2 separate regions of the Homo sapiens genome follow, and region 1 is linked to region 2. Evidence: promoter capture Hi-C in human tissues and cell types (Jung and others, 2019). All regions are on one chromosome and are shown on one strand. The core of a region is centred on a gene start or on the middle of the fragment in contact, and the rest is flanking DNA. Distances in the headings are between cores, read along the strand shown.

What was found. The method cuts DNA at HindIII sites, captures the fragments that hold promoters and counts their contacts. A contact is called where the count stands out against the background at its distance.
Region 1: a contact is called between a fragment that was not itself captured here and the fragment with the promoter of PREX1 in region 2, in 1 of the 25 tissues and cell types used here (hippocampus).

Annotation. Positions count from the first base shown.
Region 1 is chr20:49,181,569-49,185,671 of GRCh38, reverse strand. The region is part of intron 1 of STAU1 (staufen double-stranded RNA binding protein 1); the gene reads left to right. Among named protein-coding and RNA genes, the nearest start is that of STAU1, 4.7 kb to the left of the region's middle. The HindIII fragment of the contact is 6,066 bases long and covers 1-4,103 here.
Region 2 is chr20:48,825,694-48,829,722 of GRCh38, reverse strand. PREX1 (phosphatidylinositol-3,4,5-trisphosphate dependent Rac exchange factor 1) reads left to right here and starts at 1,724. Exons shown (of 40, transcript NM_020820.4): 1 at 1,724-2,081. The coding sequence starts at 1,863. RefSeq lists silencers at 1,071-1,750, 2,161-2,230. The HindIII fragment of the contact is 14,754 bases long and covers 1-4,029 here.

The DNA of each region.
Region 1 (4,103 bases), core at 1,593-4,092, 350 kb before region 2:
CCAAGGTCGGTTTTGTTTCATGTTGTATCCCCCCACACAAACTAGATTATTTTGAAACAAATCTTAAACATTGTGTCACAACATTAGCGATTTTGACTTTTACCAGATTGCCCCAGATTAAGGTCACAAAATTTACTTTTAGTAGAATAATAGTTCTCATTTTTGTTTGTTGGGCTTCCCTTCTCTGTTTATACATGATTTCTGTACAGCAGAAAAGAAGAAGAAAATTAACTCTTGATCCAATGCCTTCAGCTCCTCAAAATCAAAATACAACCTTGCTGCTTTATTGTGTACAAAAGCAAAAATTCTTGAGCTATTAATGACTATAATTGAAAAGCGAACAAATACAGATTTCCCCAGTCCTGTTTTGGCAGAGACCTGCCTTTTAACCCACTTTAATAGAGATAACTTTGTGTCAAAGTTAAACTACAGTTAATAATTCATAATGAAAACTTAAAATGTTTCTTTACAGTAGTTGTGTAAAGATACTGCTGTTACCTTAGGTTAAGAATTAAGCAAAAGATAATCTTCTAACATAGAATTGTTTTCCAAAGTGCCCCCGTCTGCCCTATTTCCAAATAACAAATTTAGCAAATATGAATGAAACCTTAATTTTTGTGAATAGTATGAAATCACAGCATAAGTGTTCACGTTTTTCTTTCTTGTGTCTAAAGGATCTCTCTTACAATGGAAGTTGACAGGAATATTATAAATATTATAAATGTCTTTGTTGCATAACTTTCAAATTTCTGGTCGTGAATAGTTTTCAGCTTTTAGGTCTGTTATTTGAGTTTTGTAGGTGTACTTTGAGCTTGATCAGGTACAGTGGAAATGTTACATGTTATGTTTTAGTTATGACTACCTGGAAGATGGGGAAAGATACACCTCTTAAAATTGATTTAGGAAAGAAACGCCAATTTAGTATCTGGGAAAGGACACAACACATTTTTAAAAATGTGTAGTGCTTCCCATTAAGCTTAACGTAAAACTTTTAAGCATTGAGAATTGTTACCATAAATATAGTTTCTTGAGAATAAGTTGCTCTCTTTTAGGTTTCAGCCAGAAAGTCCATGTATATACAGATTACAGCAGGTCCTTGAATAATGTTGTTTCAAGATAATGTTGAGAAAAAAAACTGTCTGTGGAGTTTACACGTTCTCCCTATCCCTGCATGGGTTTTCTCTGGGTACTCTTGATTTCCTCCCACATCCCAAAGCTGTGCACGTGAGGTTCACTGGTGTGTGGAGCTGTGTGTGTAAGTGTGAGTGCTTTCTGCAGTGGATGTCCTGTCCAGGACTGGTTCCGGCCTTGCACCCTAAGCTGCTGAGATAGGCTCCAGCCACCCCAACCCTGAACTGGAATAAGTGGTAAAAAAAAAAATTTTTTTTTTTGAGATGGAGTTTAGCTCTTGTCACCCAGGCTGCAGTGCAATGGTGCAGTCTCGGCTTACTGCAACCCCATGCCTGTAATCCCAGCACTTTTGGAGGCTGAGGTGGGCAGATCACCTGAGGTCAGGAGTTGGAGACCAGCCTGGCCAGCATGGCGAAACCCTGTCTCTACTAAAAATAAAAAAAATTAGCCGGGCTGGGTGGCGGGCACCTGTAATCCCAGCTACTCAGGAGGCTGAGGCAGGAGAGTTGCTTGAACCTGGGAAGCAGAGGTTGCAGTGAGCGGTTATCGTGCCATTGCACTCCAGCCGGGGCAACAAGAGCAAAAGTACTTCTCAAAAAAAAAAAAAAGGCATGTATACTTCACATTTATTTCAGTGTTTAATATTCGAAGTGTTTGGTCTTTATTTAAAAGTTTGGTGATATTTTTCTGATGAGAAATATGCCCTAGAACCTAACTCTTGTTTGTATCAATAAGCGTGTGTTAGTCGGAAGTCTCAGTTTCCAAGAACCTACCCCTTATGTTAAGAGAGGATTTACTGTATTTTAAGTTTAGAAATGGCCATGACTCATGGAACTCTCCTCCATCCCCATTCTAAAGTCCAGATCATTGATATCATTCTGGGTGTTATCAAAATGGATACTGCTTCATCCAGTCTCTCTCCCCAATACCACAAGGTAGTCTCAGTTTGTGGGGCAACTTTCTTTGAGCCTTTTTACTGGATTGAGTAAGAGTGTAATTCAGTATAAAGATGAAACTTTCATGAAAAGGGTATCTTTTTGTGGGATTCCACAAGTCAATCCCAGAGTTTGTCGCCCAGGCTGGTCTTGAACTCCTGAGCTCAAGTCATCTTCCCACCTCAGCCTCCTTAGTAGCTGGGATTATAGGCAGAGGCCTTGTTTTCATGAGCCTCTAAATTGGATCTTCTTATTTGATGTGATACCCAGTGACACAGAATTGTTCAATTTGAGGAAATATAAATTCCTCCCCTCTCAAATAAGAGCTTTGGAGTTGCTTTTCTCTCAGAATGGGATTTTAGAGCTTTCAAAAATGTTTAGAGAATTTTATGACAGATTTGTTTCACACTAGACCTATAACAGGTTATTTTACATTGACTTCTGGTGATGGAGACATTTGTGGTTGAAATGCTTCTCGTGTAATTTTCTACATGAGCTTTTCTTTAAATAAAACTTCACCAGAGTCAAGGCTGTATACCATTTGTGCTGTTCCAAAAAATATAAATTGCCAGTTATCAGTTGAACTATGAGAGGACATGTTAGTTGCTATGGTTATTTACCCCCACCATTTTATTATGAAAAATTTCAAACATATAACAAAGTTTATGAAGTTTTATTGTACATCTCTTTAGATACCATCTACTTTCTATTTTTGCCTCCCTGTTTCATGGTGCTGAACACCGTCTACTATTTTTTTTTTTTTTTTTGAGACGGAGTCTGGCTCTGTTACCCAGGCTGGAGTGCAGTGGTGTGATCTCGGCTCACTGCAAGCTCCACCTCCTGGGTTCATGCCATTCTCCTGCCTCAGCCTCTCGAGTAGCTGGGACTACAGGTGCCCGCCACCATGCCTGGCTAATTTTTTTGTGTTTTTAGTAGAGATGGGGTTTCACCGTGTTAGCTAGAATGGTCTCGATCTCCTGACCTTGTGATCCGCCCACCTCGGCCTCCCGAAGTGCTGGGATTACAGGCGTGAGCCACTGTGCCCGGCATACCTTCTGCTCTTTGTCATGAACATTTTACCATACAGTATTATGAAGCTTGAATAATGTTGGCCAAATCCATTGTTCTCACCTGCTAAGGAGATAATAGGATTATAAATATATAGCTGTGTTGATCTTATCAAATGCCACGGGATGGATGGGCTTGGATATCTGTCTTGTTGACAGCTTAATGCTCTGAACTAGAAAACCTTACTGCAGAGAAAAGTAATATTTTTAAAGTGGTAAAATGGGAATTACTGCAAATAGCTTAATTTGTTTTTTAAGTGTTTACATTCCCATACTGGTGAATAAGGTTGATGTAACAGTGATTTATGTCACCAGATAAATGGAAGTAGAGAAAAATTTCTGCAGGCTGTTAATTGCTGTATATTTTCTGGGATTACATATGTTTATTTGTTAAAGAAGTAGACTCAGGGAACTCCCTCAAAGTATATTTACTGGAAGCAAAAGTGGAAAAATCTATTTGAGAAAGTGTTTGCTTTCGATTAAAAATTAGTCTTCTGAATATCAAATCTGTAACCCATCTGGCATCTGTTTAATCTGGAATCTAATTTGGGAAAGAAGTGTGATGACTATGTGGGTTTATAACAGTAATGGAAGCAAAACTGGCCATTTTATTATGATAGAAATTTTGTGTCATGTCTCCCAGACAATAAAGGCTAAGAAAATCTATTTAAATACATTGGGGTCTTTTCCCCTGAATGAACATGATTGCTGAGGGTTAAACCTTCATTAGATTGCCTCTGCTTTTTTTTTTTTTTTTTTTTTTTTTTTTTTTGTTGAGATAGTCTTGCTCTGTTGCCCAGGCTGGAATGCAGAGGTATCATCTCGGCTCACTGCAACCTCCACCTCCTGGGTTCAAGCAATTCTCCTGCCTTAGCCTCCCGAGTAGCTGAGACTACAATTGAGCACCACCACGCCCGGCTAATTTTTTGTATTTTTAGCAGAGATGGGGTTTTGCCATGTTGCCTAGGCT
Region 2 (4,029 bases), core at 475-2,974:
GAGGAAACGGAGGCTCAGAAAGGTACCGTGAACAGTTTAAAGTCACAAAGCAGAGATACTCCAGAGGCCTTTATTAGGAATAAAAATATAAATAAAAAACCAGCTACCTTTGGACACAATTGACTCCACTACCCAAGCGTGACAGGCTCACCTATCTCATGTCCTTTACTCCCTGCCCAGGGGAACTTCACTCAGCCCAAGGCCCAGATCAAATGCTACCTTGCCCATGATCCCAAAGAAAGAAGTCAGAGAGGGCAGAAGCCACCCCATTCTCTCCCTGTGTCCTTAGGCACTTACAGTATTGAGAGGCCAATGGGAGGAAAATCCTAGGCTTTTGGAACAGGAATAAATAAGCAATGTTTCTGTCCATAAAATGACTACAGTCTAGAGGCGGATACTATGTGGATCACTTTATCCCCTGCAGAGACGATACAATCTCTGGTCCGGAAACACGGGTGATTAGGGATTGTATGGGCCATTTGAGAGTGGGGCCAGGCTTAGAGGGCCGTTCACACATGCAATAATAGTAAGAACAAACATTTACAGAGAACTTTCTAGGTGTTGGGCTTCACACATGCAATAATAGTAAGAACAAACATTTACAGAGAACTTTCTAGGTGCTAAGTACTTCCCATGGAACCCCGGGGAGGACCTTGGAGCTAGGTACCATGATCGTTCCCGTTATACTGATGAAAACACTGAGGATCTTGAAGCAAGGAAACCAGCCCAAGGCCACCCGGCCAGCAAGTGGGGAGCTAGGATTTGAACCTGAGCAGCTGACTCTAGGCCCCAGAACTTCCTCCCCTCTCCATACCTTCCGATAAGGCGGGTGATGATCAACATTGCCCAGAGCAACCTGACAAGAAGCTGGGTTTCCCAAGGCCTTATCCCATGGGGTGGGTGGATGGAAGGGGGAGCAGGCAGGGTACCTGCCACTTGATCAATAACTCAAGAGCAGGTAATAATTTCTTCTGGGAAAGGTGGAAAGGGCAGGGTCAGGGGGCAAAGAAGTTCAGAAAGAAAAGGAAGGAAGGAAAGAGAGAGATGGGAAAGGAAACGGGAAAGAGAAAAGTGAGAGCGAGCGCGCGCCACGCATGTTCCTTCCCAAGGTCGTGGTAGCACCGAGGGCACCGCGAGGGCCCGGCGTTCCCGGGAGGGGCCGTCACTGCCCAGAGAGGGGCCGTCACTGCCCAGGCAGCGGTCGCCCCTGACTTCCCGGGGCCGCGGAGGCGCGCGTGGCGGGGCTGGCTTGCCCCCGAGCGGCTCCGCAGCGAGCTTTCCCAGCCCGGTGTTTACTTGGCCCGAGCAGCGGCCGGACCTGCAAGCAGGAGCCTGCGCGCGGCGGGTGTCGCGTGTGCCGGGTGGGAGTGGCGTAGCCCGCGGTGACTGCGGGTTGGGGGGGCGCCACGCGTCCGGGCGCGGAGTTGGTACGCTCGGTTCGGCGTGCGCGCGGCCTCGGACTCCCGGCTCCGCGGGGCCCTTCCGGAGGCTCCCGCCCGACCCCCGAGCTTCCGACGGAGGCGCCGAGCGCCGCGCCGCGTCCCCAGGGGCCCCGTGCACGCGCAGAGCGCCTCTGCGGCCGAGCGCGGCGTGGCACTTGGCAGACGGTCCCTGGCGCGGGGGCGGGGGGCCAGCCGTCTGGGAGCCCCGAGGGCCGCCCCCTCCCGCCCCTCGCCCGGCCCCCGCGCGCTGCCTCCGCCCCCGGCCCAGCCGCCCGGCCCCCAGTCCCGCCCGCCGCGCCGGGAGCCCGGCCCGCCGCTGAGCCCGGCCCGCCGGCGCGCCCCGTCCGGGATGGGGCGCCTGGACGCCTGAGTTGCCGCTCGGCGCGACGGAAGGAGCCGGCGCCGCGCGGCCGCGCTAGAATGGAGGCGCCCAGCGGCAGCGAGCCCGGCGGCGACGGGGCCGGGGACTGCGCCCACCCGGACCCCCGGGCCCCTGGCGCCGCGGCGCCCAGCTCCGGCCCCGGCCCGTGCGCGGCCGCCCGGGAGTCCGAGCGCCAGCTGCGCCTCCGCCTCTGCGTCCTCAACGAGATCTTGGGCACCGAGAGGGACTACGTGGGCACCTTGCGCTTCTTGCAGTCGGTGAGTGTCGCTCGGGAGCTTGGGGACAGCTTTCCCTCCAGCCGCTCGCCCCGCTGCGGTCCCCACAACCTGTGGCCGTGGTCCCCGTGGGTGGAGAATTGCCTCGGGGGCGCCCCGCAGGGCGCGCGGAAAGCGGGGGGGATCCGAGCTCCTCCAGAGCTGTCGCGTCGCCTCCCTCCCTGGCCGGCGCACGGTCCTGCTCCGACCGGGGCTCTCCCGCACTCCACTTCCCCGCGGCGCGCGCTGCCCTTTTGTCTTTTCTTCCCCGTCCCCGCCTTTCAAATAGTTTTAAAATTAGTTACATCCGCGATGCAGGGGCTTGGGGACCCCGGCGGCGCCGGGAGCTGGCGCTCCTGCGTCTTTTTCCCAGGAATAACTACGCGCCCGGTGCACCACTCATCTAGGACATACCGTAGGAGCCCCAGAGCCCAACGTCCCTGCGCGTTGATGGAGTAGGATAAAACCTGAAGCTCAGAGGAGGGGCGGGGATTGACAGAACCCCAGGGTAGAATCCCCCATGCACAGGTTTTTGCTGGAGTTCGGGGAGAGTGGGTTTCGAACTCAAAACTCGGCAGTCCAGGCTCCCTAACTGCATCCACCCCCACCAACTCCCCATCTCCAAGTGCAAAACCACGGCCTCAGACTTTGTAAAATAACAACCGACCACTTACTATGTGCCAGACACCTTACATGTGTCATTAATTAGCAGGTTTAACCTTCACAGGCGGTCTATGAAGTAGGGACGAGTATTTCCCCCATTTTTAATTAAAAAAATTTTTTTTTGAGACGGAGTCTCCCTCAGTCACCCAGGCTGGAGTACAGTGGCGCAATCTCGGTTCACTGCAACCTCCGCCTCCCGGGTTCAAGCAATTCTCTTGCCTCAGCCTCCCGAGTAGCTGGGATTACAGGCACGCGCCAGCCACCACGGCCGACTAATTTTTGTATTTTTATCAGAGAGGGGATTTCACCATGTTGGCCATGCTGGTCTTGGACTCCTGGCCTCAAGTGATCCGCCGACCTCGGCCTCCAAAGTGCAGGGATTACAGGCGTGAGCTACTGGGTCCTGCCTCCTCCGTTTTTAAGATTGGGAAAGTTTAGCTCCAGAGGGGCCGGGTAGCTTGTCTGGGATCGCACAGCTGATTAAGTGGGGGTACTGGGCTTTGAACCGGGACTATCCCAGCTGGTGTTCTAAACCCCTATTCTATGCTGCATTTTTCTTTTGCTTTTTTTCTGTGAGAGGGAGGAAGGGGCCACTTCCCTACTCTCCTAGGAAGTGAGAAAAGTGGCCAGCGGGTGGAGGGGGTGGGACGGGGCAGAGCCTTGGATGGAAGTTAGGAGACTCTAAAGTCTTTAATCTCCATGCCTCCTGCTGGGGCCTCATTTACTCCCCTTCTCTGCTCTAGGAAGTCTTTTAATCCTGGTTCAGGAAGGGCTGGTGTGGGGGTGGCTCTTTCAAAGACCCTAGAGCCAGGCTTTGTAGCTCCTAGTCTTTGGGAGAAAGAGGGAGACTCTGGGGTCCTCTGGGGCTCCTCATGGCTTAGGGGTGCAGCTGAGGCTGTGTGAGATCAGAGTTCCAGCTCAGGGAGGAGACAGCCTTAGACTAGAGCCCTTCTGCCTGTGAAAGGAGATGTACTGGGGGCAGGGGGATGTGGGAGAGGGGGTTGTGCAGAAGCATTGAAAACCATTTGGCTAAAGGACCCTTCTAGGAAGGCCTGTAAGAATAAGGCAGGATTGGCTTTCTTTCCCATCCCTTCTTCTCTCACAGTTTCGGGGGTGGGGGGTGGGGGAAGAATTTGTTCTGTTAGAAGCTGGCAGTTTTTGAATTAAACATGTAGACAACCCTGGTGTCTCTGAGCAATGTCAAATTCTAGGGAACTCCTGACTTCTCCTTCTGAGCCACTCCATGCTCCTCTGCTTGGAAGAGAAACAGGAAATACAAACCAATTTT